2 separate regions of the Homo sapiens genome follow, and region 2 is linked to region 1. Evidence: promoter capture Hi-C in 16 types of primary human blood cells and fetal thymus (Javierre and others, 2016). All regions are on one chromosome and are shown on one strand. The core of a region is centred on a gene start or on the middle of the fragment in contact, and the rest is flanking DNA. Distances in the headings are between cores, read along the strand shown. Region 1 holds the start of USP16 (ubiquitin specific peptidase 16). Region 2 overlaps LTN1 (listerin E3 ubiquitin protein ligase 1).

Region 1 (3,156 bases), core at 446-2,945:
GAAACTAAGCCGGGTCCGGTGGCTTATGCCTGTAATCCAGCATTTTGGGAGGCCGAGGCAGGTGGATCACTTGAGGCCAGGAGTTCAAGACCAGCCTGGCCAATATGCTGAAACCCTGCCTCTACCAAAAAAATACAAAAGTTAGCTGTGTGGTGGGGTGGCACGTGCCTATAATCCCAGCCACTGGGGAGGGTGAGGTGGGAGAATCGGGAGGTGGAGGTTGCAGTGAGCTGAGGTCGTGCCACTGCACTCCAGCCTGGGTAACAGAGTGCAACCCGGTCTCAATAAATAAATAAATAAGTAAATAAAACAAAAATTATCTCAGCAGTAAAAAGCAAGAGAGCTAGTTTTCCCCCAAATTTAACCAAATGTTACTCTGGTGGTTAGTATGCCACCATCTTAAACTCCTTTTATCTGATTAGTAAGGATGGACATTTATTTTATGACCAATTGTTCTTTTATGGTGAATTACCTGTTTACATATCTATTTTTCTATAGCTATCTGCAACTCCCCCGACCCCCACGGTAGCGATTACTATCTTCTCTACTAAACTAAGACTCCAGGGCAGAGAGGCCTATGTTTAATTCATTTGAGGAAAGGCTTGGCACAAAGTGTGCACTTACATATTTTCTTTTTTTCTTTTTGAGAGGGAGTTTTGCTCTTGTTGCCCAGGCTGGAGTGCAATGGAGTGATCTTGGCTCATTGCAACCTCTGCCTCCAGACTTCAAGCGATTCTCCCCCTTAGCCTCCCGAATAGCTGGGATTACAGGCGCCCGCCACCACGACCGACTAATTTTTTGTATTTTTAGTAGAGACGGGATTTCACCACGTTGGCCAGGCTGGTCTCGAACTCCTGACCTCACGTGATCCACCCGCCTCGGCCTCCCAGTGTTGGGATTACAGGGGTGAGCCACCGCGCCAGGGCTCGCACTTACAAATTTTCAAAGAATGGACAGTAAATATTTGAAAATCCCCTCCTCCCCCGCAATTTATCTGACACCGTCTTTCGGTTTTGCTTTAAAAATTCACTCTCGCGGCCGGGCGCGGTGGCTCACGCCTGTAATCCCAGCACGTTGGGAGGCCGAGGCGGGCGCATCACAAGGTCAGGAGTTGGAGACCAGCCTGGCCAATTGGTGAAACCCCGTCTCTACTAAAAATACAAAAATTTTAGCTGGGCGTGGTGCCGTGCGCCTGTAGTCCCAGCTACTCGGGAGGCTGAGGCAGAAGAATGCACTCCAGCCTGGGCGACAGAGGGATATTCCGTCTCAAACAAACAAAAAATCACTCGCTGCGTTTTTTATTCTGACATGGTGCAGGAAGGTAAATTCAAGACAACTTAGGTACTCAGTTTTAGAAGTCGACAGGACAGAATTACGGAAACAAATTTAAGCGTTCCCCCTTTTAGCTCCAAATATAATGTGTTCCAGAAAGGTAACCATCTAGGAAACTCCAAGGCTCAGACCACCACCGGATGCCCACACTTCAGGAGCATTTATATAACTTCGTGGTTATGTCAGAGACGAGAAAACCCATTGACAACCAAACCCCTAAACCCGAACATCCGGCGCAAGCCGCACGCAGGCGCAGATTTACTAGCGTCAGAGCCGATGGTCCCGGGAGGTGGGGGTGGGGTGGTGGTGGCCTAGCCACTTCCCATAATGCCGCGTTCCGGAAGTTATTGCTTTCCAGGGGTCACTCTGGCTTCGACTCCGTCGCTCTCAATTCGTCACCAGGAGGAAGACGGAGCTGGCTGCCCAGCCCAAAGGCCCATGAGGGGATGCAGTTATGGGCTCTGTCGCCGTGGGTGAGTTCTGGTCCCACTGCCTGGCAGTCGTCGCTCGCCTGGCTTTCTGCGCTGGGAGAGCTCCTGTTTTCCGCCCCAACTTCGTTCTCTTCTTGAAGGCCGCTCTCCTTAAGCACGTAACCCGGCTACTTTCCGGTACTGCGATCTCATTGGCTGCATGTTCTGTCAGTTCCAGAAGCTGGCCAATGAGATGCCGCTGCTGGCGGCCTTCTCGACCCCGTGGACCCAGAGGTTCCCCCGTGGGATCGGAGCAGTTAGAAGGGGAGGAGAGGGAAGGTGTGGCAGGCGCCGAGCAAATGGGTGGGTGGCGCGTGGCAGGGACTTCCCTATGGGTTGGAGCTGGATTTGCAGCCGTGTTCATACGGCTGGTAGGAAAAGCAGGATCTGTCACTTATCCAATTGACTATATCTAGGAGGGGATTGATATACGCAAAACTTGAAAGCCACGTTAACACCTGCTGACAAAGTTTTCCACACGCTTACATTTTTAATGGAACCGAGTAGGCAGGGGAAGACTGGGAGGGCAGAGAGTGAAGAGACTTGGAATAATATGAGAACCGGCAAGACTATCTTTGATTTAGATTTTGTATGGAGTCCTGCGAAGAGTCATTTCACTAAGACGTTAATGCTCATCCGATGACACTACTTGAAAAGTGTATTAAGTTTATTGATGTTTTATAGCTGATGGAAGTCACAATATGCTCTCCTCATGACTCATTAGTTGCCTTTATAGTTGTCAGAACTTTACTGAGGCTCTTTCCGCAGCACTGGAGTGACCCCTCTGTCCTCTGCCTGCAGTAATTAACAATTCGTCTTTCAAGTTTTCCTATGGAGTCTAAGCTGCTGCAATCCTCAAACCAGATTTACTAGTGCTGTCTTCACTACTGCAGACTTCTGACTTCTCATTTTTCACCCTTTTCTTTTTCACCAGAACTTGTTTGCTTCATTCTTATGTACCTACCTTTGCACCTTGTAATCATCCTTTATGCCTCAGGTACTATTCTATTTTTCTATTTCAATGCAAGAAGTATTTCTTCAGGACCTGCTATGTACTAACATTATGCTAGATATTATAGGCAGTTCCAAAACTGTGCTTGAAACCATTTATTTTTCTAAGAACTTTAGATTCTGCTTACAGAAATAACATAAACCCAGATTAAAGATTTAAGAAATTCACTAGAATATGGGATAAGGGGACAAGATGACTAGAGCATACCATAAATACTGGGGAAGTTCAGTGGAGAGGTTTATTTAGAGTAGAATGATTGTCTAAGGCTTCCTTGAAATGGAGAGCTTCCAAGATTGGTAAGATTTAGATAGAATATTACAGCTAGAAATCAAAGACATCAAG
Region 2 (3,156 bases), core at 206-2,705, 54 kb before region 1:
GCCTGCACTACATCTTTCTAAAACAGGGTTTTACAGGCCGGGCGCGGTGGCTCACACCTGTAATCCCAGCACTTTGTGAAGCCGAGGCGGGTAGATCACCTGAGGTCAGCAGTTCTCGACCAGCCTGGCCAACATGGTGAAACGCCGTCTCTACTAAAAATACAAAAATTAGCTGGGTGTGGTGGCGGGTGCCTGTAATCCCAGCTACTTGGGAGGCTGAGGCAGGAGAATAGCTTGAACCCGGGAGGCAGAGGTTGCAGTGAGCTGAGATTGCGTCATTGTACTCCAGCCTGGGCAACAAAGAGCGAAACTTTGTCTCAAAAAAAAAAGGGATTTTTGCATCCAGACACTGATTAGTTTCTTAGGTATCATACCATGCTAGCAACTGAGAGTATGGAATTTTTACTTATCTGGTCAGAAATACACATCACTCAATTGGTAAATTATAAAAATAAAATTTTTACAAGGAAGGCTTATTACTGTAAATGGCAACAAGACACAATGAGCTTGATCCTACATAATCAGTATGCAAAGAGACTGACGACTTTTACATTATAGATACCTGATCATTGACGAGCATCTGTTCAATCTCTTCCTCACCTAAGTTTTGCTGCATTATAAAACGTAAGCATTCAAAAAAAGCAGATATTACTGCCGAGGACTCTAAAGAGCTGGTTTTAGTTCTCTCTGTTGACAGCCTAAGAAATAATTAATAACTGGATTACTCTTTCATGAAGAAGAAACAAGAACTCAGAATTATCAAAATAAAGACCTCAAAAAGGCATCATGACAGAAGAAACATTTTTAAAGCAGTTTCTTAAACTACAAATTAAATACCAATGAAAATACATATAGCCCAATGAGAATATGAACTTAAAAACTTTGAAAAAGTTTTTCAAAAAATGTATCAGTAAAAAATAAAAATAAGAGAATATTTCCTTTTTCTTTTTCTTCTTTTTTTTTAGAAATAGGGTCTTACTATCTTGACCAGGCTGGTCTTGAACTCCTGGCCTCAAGCAATCCTCCCACTTTGGCCTGTGCTAGGATTACAGCTGTGAGGCACCACGCCTAGCCGAGATATTAATTTTCTATTCATGGACCAATCCACCTGCAAATTCGAGATAACTTATTAACCAAATAAAGATAATGGTGTAGTAAAAAAAATCTGTAATCATTAATAAAATGATGTATCTTCTAAGTTCAACAAATGTACTGAAACAGTTTTTTTAAGTGTGAATTTAAACATCTATAGTAGTTAAAGTTGTTGATGTTTTAAAAATTTCACTGGCTAATTTTCTGCATTTAGGCATTTGTATTTATCAACATAAAAAATAAAAAATGGCTACATGTGTCTGTGGTGCAATTGGTTAGCACATTCTGCTGTTAAAAAAATGGCTAATTTGAAAAATAGCCTAGTTGACCTATTTCCAACAAGGAGCTTTACCTTATTTATCTAACTTCCTGCTGTGTGCTACCACTGAAGTCTTGAACGTACTCAAGAAAAAAATATCAATTGTAATTCTCTGAAAACTTTAAAAGTATTTAATGAATAGTAAAACAACTTGGAGAAATTTAAGTAAGAAAGAAAATGAGTATAAAAACAAGAAAATCTGTTTTGTTTTAAAAATCAAAAATTTAAATTACTTACCCAGCAACTAGAGACGTGAGGAAATTTTTGAAGAAATCCAACTTTGGATTTGTGATGGACTGAGGGAGCTTGCTGATGAATGGCAGAAGGTAAGGATATATGACAGTAGCTAGACCCCGACCACCTTCACGAATCACAGTTGATAGCTTGGGAAACACACTCTTTTTTGCATTTACATGAAGCCAACAGTCCTAACCAAACAAAAGATTATAGTAGTAATTAGAGATCATAAACATACTTTTCTCAATTAAAAGAGAAAACATATAGGCTCTCAAAAAGAAAAACCAAGTATTTTACCTAAAAAAAGCTAAAATCTTTCACCACCATTAAAAACTAAAACTGAAATTATAAATGTATTACATATAATGATCATATATTCGACATGCTTACAATAAAGTATTGATTAGAAATAATTATTTAACTTCTATTTCTATAAAAGCTGCTTTCTAAAAGGGACAATTATATTTCAATCTTAATTATATTTCATCTTAAATATAAAATTCAGTTATGGTGACTGCACTAGGACACATAAGGTTTAAAGAATAATTAATACTGGCAAAACAAAATAAAATAAAAACTCTATGCCATTTTAGTCACTTTAAGATTTATGCCAAGTTTAGATTATTTTATTTCCAAGAAAGCATTTTCCCAGTAAGTTTTGGATATTCTTATCTCATAGGTTCATTCCTCAGTGTACTAAATGTGCCTCTCTTACATACCTCAATAGTTGTAAGTGTATAGAGTACAGCTTCCCAGAGAGCTGGGCAGACAATTGGGTCACTGTCATCAATGCTAAGTAGAACTGATGGGCTCACTTTGGATGCTTCCTCTTTCATCAACTGTGGAATGCGCTGGCACAATGCAGAGACTAACTCAAAATAAGCTGAGCGAATCTAAAAGAATGCAAAGCTGAATTAAATTAAAACCTAGTAAAACTTGATAAGATTTTTAATTTATGGTAATAGTAGATTATTCACACTAACCCTCCCACTAAGAAAACTAAAATAGCTAGAAAAAATACTTTTTAAAATCTTAGAGTATGAAATGGCTGAAAAGGCATAAGGAATTACCAAGGCAAAAGTGAAGGCTGAAAGAATTAATTCAACTTTCTCTTTCTTTGACTGAAGCAAACACAAATCCTCTTTAGTAGCAGAAGCCTTCATTTGGGGCCTCCATTATAGCCAAACAAACAGAAAATAAGACACCATGAGCAACAATCAGGAGAAATAAAAGATCTGAGACTTTAAATCTTAGAATGATCAGTCACAAATTCTATAATACAATGCTTATTATATTTAAAGGAACAAAAGTTTTAAAAAACTTGTAAGAAAAAGGATCCTGGAAAAAGCAGAGCAGATCGGAAAAAGATCAAGCACAATTACTCAACTAAAAATAATTAAAACTTAAAGCTCAACTCGTAGTTTAAGAACAATGCAATGGTCTGAATGTCTCCCTCCAAAATTAGTATGTTGAAACTTAATCACCAGTGTGATAGTATTAAGAAGCGA

What was found. Contacts are between HindIII fragments. The CHiCAGO score rates a contact against its expected background, and 5 or more counts as called.
Region 2: a fragment that was not itself captured here is called in contact with the fragment with the promoter of USP16 in region 1 in 4 of 17 cell types (neutrophils, total CD8 T cells, activated CD4 T cells and 1 more); the score reaches 5.7 in neutrophils.

What each region holds. Positions count from the first base shown.
Region 1 is chr21:29,022,973-29,026,128 of GRCh38, forward strand. USP16 (ubiquitin specific peptidase 16) reads left to right here and starts at 1,696. Exons shown (of 18, transcript NM_006447.3): 1 at 1,696-1,805. RefSeq lists an enhancer at 1,572-1,961. The HindIII fragment of the contact is 4,939 bases long and covers 1-3,156 here.
Region 2 is chr21:28,968,904-28,972,059 of GRCh38, forward strand. It overlaps LTN1 (listerin E3 ubiquitin protein ligase 1), which reads right to left. Exons shown (of 30, transcript NM_015565.3): 7 at 2,368-2,541; 8 at 1,649-1,839; 9 at 563-698. Among named protein-coding and RNA genes, the nearest start is that of LTN1, 22 kb to the right of the region's middle. RefSeq lists a silencer at 1-63. The HindIII fragment of the contact is 7,647 bases long and covers 1-3,156 here.